2 separate regions of the Homo sapiens genome follow, and region 2 is linked to region 1. Evidence: promoter capture Hi-C in human tissues and cell types (Jung and others, 2019). All regions are on one chromosome and are shown on one strand. The core of a region is centred on a gene start or on the middle of the fragment in contact, and the rest is flanking DNA. Distances in the headings are between cores, read along the strand shown.

Region 1 (3,287 bases), core at 395-2,894:
CTGGCACTAGAAAAGTTTCTGAGTACCAGGCCCTTTGGGAAAGGGAGAGAGTTTTGGCAGCAGGTGACCACAGCAAAAATCTTTCTGATAAGTCCTTAGGTGGTTGAGTGGGAAAGCCCTGGGGTGGGGGGCTTGCTGTAGTTGGTAGAAGTGGCTGGACAGCAGCTAAGTGGGGTGGAGAAAATGGAGAAGAGGGTGAGCTTGGGAATTCTGGCTTTGCTTTTTTCTGGGAAAGGGTAGGAGCCTTGCACATATATGGATGATTCAAGCTAGAGGGTGAGATGAGGGAGAGCTCCTTGTCCAGCCACACACAGATCCAAGAGCATTGCCCCAGAGCCTAGAGCTCAGAACCCCTAATATTGTTCCACTCCAGTTCCCTTTGGGATCTTTATTATCCAAAAAGTATTTCTTGAGCACCTGCTGTGACCCCAGCCCTCTCCTGGATGCAGGGGTCAATCAGACCTGGTCCCTTTAAGGAGGGAGACCAGTTCGGATAGAAATAATTACTATATGGGATAATTTAGTGCTGAGCACTAAATCTGTAACATGGGGACAATAATAATAGAAGCTACACCAAAGTGTTGGTGCATGGATAAAGTGCTTATCACAGTGCCTGGAGCAAAGTAATGCTTGGTAGAATGTTCTGGAAAGGCTAGGCACCCCAAGAAGAAGGATGGCTCTAATCTGGAATGGTTAGGTCTTGGAAGGGGTGTGGCAAGGATGACTTAGCCAAGTGCCCCCCTTCTATCTGCTCGCACTGCAGCCAGAGTGCTCCTTAAGGTGGTCTTCAAGAGCCTGCCCACCACCTCATCGCCCCCTCACTTCCTGCCTTCTCCTCTTCCTGGCTTCCTTTCAGTCCCTCTGCTTCCTTTATCCGGAATCCTCTTCCCTTGTTACTTCCTTAAGTTAGTTCTTCCCCAAACTTCACACCTCACCTCAAGTGTCGTTTCCCCAGGGAAGCTGTCCTGACCCCTGGGTTTTGTAGACCCTGCCACTTTCTCAATTCGTACCTATATCTTAATGTCATTTTAGGGTTGCTCGCTCTCTCTCCTGCACTGGGCTGTAAGCCCCAGGAAGCAGAGGCTGCATCTGGTTTTGTGTACTAGAGGGTCCCCCCAAATACCCGGCTCTTCTATTAGGCACCCTCAGAATTTTTGTTGAGCGAATGAATGGGGTGCAAGAAAGGCACGGATAATATAGGTTATTTACGGAGCATGTAACTGTCCGCAGGGCACTGCTCTAAGCTCTTTGTTCGAATCATTTTATTCAATCTCCCCAACCACCCTCTGAGGGAGGTGGTACGATTTTCCTCATCTCACAGACAAAGAGAATGAAGCTGAGGGAGGTTAAGTGACTTACACAAGGTCACTCCGCCTGTTAGTGCAGGGGCGGGAGGCGGGATCCACACCCAGGTCCCTCTGACACCAAAGTGGCAAGGGGGTGGGAGGGGAGTCCAGGTTGGGACGGGGTCGCACTCGAGCCGGCGGAGCATCCCTAGGGAGGGGGCGGGAGGCCTCCCCTGCCCAGCTCCGAGCCGGTGGTGCAGCGTCCGCCCCCGGTCGCGGGCGCAGACTGGCGGCCGCCTCCGGGCCACGTGGTGCGCGCGGCGGGCGCGTCCGAGGAGCCTGCGGCTGCTCCTGGCTCACAGCGCTCCGGGCGAGGAGAGCGGGCGGACGCCGGGGGCTGGGCCGGTGCGGGCGGCGAGGCAGGCGGACGAGGCGCAGAGACAGCGGGGCGGCCGGGGCGCGGCAGCCGGCGGCGTCGGGGCCGCGGCCTCTGCCTTGCCGCTCCCCTCGCGTCGGATCCCCGCGCCCAGGGCGCACGGTGGAGAGGGACGCGGCGGAGCCGGCCGGCAGCCATGGAACCGGCCCCCTCCGCCGGCGCCGAGCTGCAGCCCCCGCTCTTCGCCAACGCCTCGGACGCCTACCCTAGCGCCTGCCCCAGCGCTGGCGCCAATGCGTCGGGGCCGCCAGGCGCGCGGAGCGCCTCGTCCCTCGCCCTGGCAATCGCCATCACCGCGCTCTACTCGGCCGTGTGCGCCGTGGGGCTGCTGGGCAACGTGCTTGTCATGTTCGGCATCGTCCGGTGAGTCCGCTGCGGGCCGGCGCCGCAGGGCTGGAGCCCGGGGTGAGGGTGGGGATCACGAACTTGAGACCCCAAGCCCGTTCCCTGGACTCCCCGCGCCTCCGCATTTCCTGCAGGGGCACCTGGGGCCCAGCGAGAGGCGAGGCCACTTACATCGAGGGGAACACAGGAATGTGTGTCATCGTGTGTATGTGTGTGTGTGGTGCGGGGGGGGGAGTGCGCCGCGGTTGACTAAATTACATTTGATCATCTGTTGGCATCCCCTTGCTTCTTTGTGGGACAGTTTGGCGTCAGTTTGTGTGTCTGTCACAGTTTGTGAGTGGATGGTTGTGACAGTACAACTGTATGTTTGGACGTCGGAAACATGCCCATGGGGTGGGCAGAGCTGCTCTGAGGTGCCGCGGGCCTTTGGGGAGACCGGTGTGAGGGCACCGTGCAGGCAGGGCGGACAGGAGGGTGCTGGGTGTCAGCACCTCGCCGTGGGGCCCTTACCAAGTCATATTTGGTGCTCATCTGTTGGTGTGAGCTTGTCCCTAACGGTCAGTTTGTGATTCTGTCTGAATGTAACAATGTGACTGTTGTTTCTTGTCAAGCTCTTGAAACCCCGAGGGCGGCAGAGCATCCGGAGTGGCCGTCGTCCCTGTGTTTGTGCAGCTGTGTGTGCCTTTGCCAGTGATTCCTGGATAACATGGGCGACAGCTGTGGGCCGCCAACCGGTTCTCTGTTCCCTTCGCCAGTGCCCATCTGGTCAGGAATTCTGAATAGGATTCAGAGAAGACTCACGCCCTCCTCACAAATGCCCTCTCCCATTTTCTCTTTGCCTCCTCTAACAGTCTTTTCTTCTGCCAGAGGCAGCAGAGGTTGGTCTGGGCGGGAGTGGATTTTGAGTTTTCATCCCAGGAAGTGAGGTGCTCTTCTTGGAGTTTATGGAGAGTGCTGGGACCTTCTCAGAGAGCCTAAGACGTCAGCTTGCCCCAGAAGTAGCCCTCCTGATACAGCCCCACAAGCTCAGACATGGCCAGTAAGGGTTGAGAGGAAAATTTCCATCTTTAAAACAACAAAGATGCCCTCGTATTTGCTGTTAGTTGAAAATGGGTCCTTCATGCTGGTGGACCAAGGACATGGCCCTAAACCTCTCTGGGCTGTGGGTGCCACCATGCAGGGCATAGGTCAGGTCGTGGACTCAGAGGTTAGAGAGATGA
Region 2 (3,287 bases), core at 275-2,774, 310 kb after region 1:
GGGGGCGTCACCGGCTCCAGCCTCTCCCTGCCCGCCCCCTCCTTCCAGACCTCCTCCGCCCGCAGCGAAGCTGCAGCAGGAGCGACTTGAGCTAGACACCGGGAAGACCGCTCGGATCAAGACCAGCCAGGCAGAGGAGGAGAGGCGGCGCCGACTTCGCCCAAGATTTCCATCAAGTCCACGCATGAGAGGCCTCTCCCTCCCCCAGCGGTCGTGCTGGGGCCACGGCAGCAGGCGGGGGTGCCGGTGCCGGGCGCTGGGCCCCGCCGGACGGATGCCCTCCCGGCTCCCCCGTCGGCCCGGGCAAGGCTGTTCCCAGGTTGCGACGTTTCCAATTCGGGCTCCTCCGGATGAATCATCCCCCTTTCCCGCCGCCTGGCCTCCTTTCCCGCCTCCTCCGCCCGAGGCCTCCGTGGCCCGTGGCCCGGTCAGAGCAGCACCGCCCCTGCGCCTCGGGATCCGGGCCGCACAGCTTAAGCCCTCCCGATTGCTGGCCGCGCCCTGCCTGCGGCCTGTGGCCTGGATCCCGGGCCCAGCAGGAGTAGCCGAGCTGCGTGCGGTGTGGCCCCCACGAAAGGGAGGGCGAGGGAGAAGACGCGGCCCCCGCCCAGGCGCCCCAGGCCGCAGGAGAGGAGGCTCAGGGCCTAGCTGTCCAGGGTCGTCCTCACTGCTCGCGTCCGCTTCCTAAAGAACCACCGCGCTGGAGCCCGCAGCCGAAACCTCGGGGAGGCGGCCTTGCTCCCCGACCCACGCCCCATCTGCACCCCAAACCTCAAAGCAGGACACCCATCCCTGCCTCCGACTGGAGCGCTCAAGGCCCGGGCCTAGCAGGGAGCCGCCACTCTCCCGCGTCCAAAGCCTGGTTTCACAGATTGCAACTACGGCCCAGGGAGGCCGGGGAGACTGCCCGACCCCGCACTAGGCGGGGGCTCTGCCAGGTCCGACGCCGGGCTCCGGGGCCCCAGCCCTAGACCCCTCTCAGGACAGCCACGGGAGTATCCAGGAGGAAGCGAGGCCCATCCCCTCCTTGTCCCTGAGTTTGCAGCCCTTTCCCCAGCCCGCAACCGGAGGAGCGATCATCGCTTCAAGCCAGAACTGGCGCTCTCAGCCCCGGCTCCAGCAAGGTCACCCGGAGCCCCGCGCGTCGCTGCCGCGAGGGAAGCGAAAACAAGCAGAGTGGGGACATGGGGACACGCTCAGAGACCCCGAGCCGTGGAGGTAGTGGGCCGACGCTGGGGACACCAGGGAGGCGGAAACTTGGGGACACAGCGCACAGCCCGACAGAAGATGCTGGGGCCGAGTCCCCAGGACTCCAGGGTCCCGCCACCGCCCGCGTCCACACTCCCGCCTGGGGGAACGGGAGGGCCGCGCTCCCGCCCCCAGGGGCCCTGACCGAGGGAGGGAGGGAGGGAGGGAGGGACCAAACGAAAAGTTGGGAAAAGTGGAGTGCGGACCCCTGGACCCCAGCTCGGCTCACCTGGCGCCGCAGCGCCGCGCGGGTCCGGGTCCCAGTCCGCGCGCGGAGGCTCCAGAGCCGCCCGGGTCTCCACGGCCCGGCCCCAGCCCCGCCCCGGCCCCGCCTCCAGCCCCCGGGACCGTCCGACCCGCGCCGGGCCCGGCCCCACCGCCGCTGAAAGGCGGCAGCTCAGGTCAAAGGATCGCAGGTAGGCGCCCTGTGCGCGCCTGGTGACTCCGGGCACCCGTGGCCCGAGTTCTGCCATCCCCACTCTCCCACCCCCAGCTTACATCGGTCGCAAAGGCCCACAAAGGCGACCCCTTCCTACATGGGGAAACTGAGACCCGGGACCCAGGAGCCCCGACACCCGCACGTCCTTCCCCGCTTCCCAGAGCCCCTCATCCCAGGCGCCCGGGGAGCTTCCAGGAGGAGGCGGCCCGAGTCCCTGCTCTGCCCCGGTCCCGCAGCCCTTGCTGTCGCTGAACCTCGCGGACTTCATCTGTGCAATGGGCACCAAGGCTTCAGCCTCGCAAGATGCCGAGAGGCAAGAGCCAGACGCCAAGGGCCAGCCCGGGGCGACTCCGCAAAGCCCTCAGCGAAAGCAGCGCCCGGGGAGGGGCGGGCCTTGTAGCTGAAAGGACCGGACGGGGTGCGGATGTGCCGCCGGGTACTCCTAAGAACAGGCGCCCCTTCGCCAGTGGGGGAGCGGGCTTGTTCCCAATAACGGGGAGGGTGCTGAGAGCTGCGACCCCGCCGGCGAGCCCGAAGGGGGCGGCCCGGCCTTCGCGCCCTCCCGCCCCTGGAGGCAGGAATGCAGAGCGGGGGAGCCAGGGCGGCCGGCGGTCGGCCCAGTTTCCATGATGCGGGGGGCGGGTTCGGGGGAGGCGGCGACCGATTTCCAGGCTCAGCGGTCAGGCCGGGCCCCCCGGGAGGAATTTCCGGCCTAGGATTGATTAAGGCCCGCCCCTCCCCCCGGCCGTGGAGACCCCCGGCGCGCAGCCGGGGGGAGGGGCGCTAATGAGACCCGGCTGCGCGCCGCGGACAGGGAGGGGACCCGAGGAAGGGGCGGGCCAGGGGCCGGGGCCACCCCCCGACGCGGGGCGGAGCCGGGTCCCGGAGCCGCACGGCCAGGCCAGGCCTTGAACCTGAGCTCCCACCCTCTGGGTCGGCGGAGGAGAGTGGGGGTGCATCAGTGCCCCCCGGGACCCCCTCTTCCAGCTCTTAAAAGCCCCCTCGGGGGGTCGGTGAGGTAACGGGCGGACCAGAGGGACCACAGTGGGGAAGACCGAGCCTCGGCTCCCGGGCTTCATCCCTGCGAGGCCGTGTGCGAGATCGAAGCCAGGGCCTCCTTCTTGCCTCCCCAGTCCGACTGGAGGCTCCTGAGGTCTCGGTCCGCTCCACGGAGGCCTCCCTCCAGCATCTTTGCTTGGGACCCCCGCCCCCATCAATCCTCCGCTTCGTCCACTCCCCGCACACTGACCCCACCGCGGTCGCACCTCCGCCTCCCAGCTCTCCCTCCCACCCCTGGGCTCCCTCAATCCCACTCCATGCCTGCCTCTCCCAGCCCACTGCTCTTCCTCCAATAAGCCCGGCTTCTAGTCTGACTCCCTGGGCCCCTCGATCATCCCCTGCCTCCAGCTCTGTGAAGGGCCCTTTGTCCACCCAAGCACGGGGTCAGCCTTGGCCCCTTCCTCTCCCCCTCTCATCCCACTCACAGAGCCTTGGGGGCCCTGCTCTTTTCATCTGGGGCCAGCCACGTTCTCCCTTTCCCATGGCCACTGTCCTGCTCCGGCGTCCAGGCTCCTCCTGGAGCCCATGGTCTCCTGCCTCC

The links. The method cuts DNA at HindIII sites, captures the fragments that hold promoters and counts their contacts. A contact is called where the count stands out against the background at its distance.
Region 2: a contact is called between the fragment with the promoter of TMEM200B here and the fragment with the promoter of OPRD1 in region 1, in 1 of the 25 tissues and cell types used here (adrenal gland).

Annotation. Positions count from the first base shown.
Region 1 is chr1:28,810,526-28,813,812 of GRCh38, forward strand. It overlaps OPRD1 (opioid receptor delta 1), which reads left to right and starts at 1,645. Exons shown (of 3, transcript NM_000911.4): 1 at 1,645-2,085. The coding sequence starts at 1,859. The HindIII fragment of the contact is 21,122 bases long and covers 1-3,287 here.
Region 2 is chr1:29,122,379-29,125,665 of GRCh38, forward strand. It overlaps TMEM200B (transmembrane protein 200B), which reads right to left and starts at 1,525. Exons shown (of 2, transcript NM_001003682.4): 1 at 1,478-1,525. RefSeq lists enhancers at 939-1,798, 1,799-2,658, 2,659-3,287. The HindIII fragment of the contact is 25,455 bases long and covers 1-3,287 here.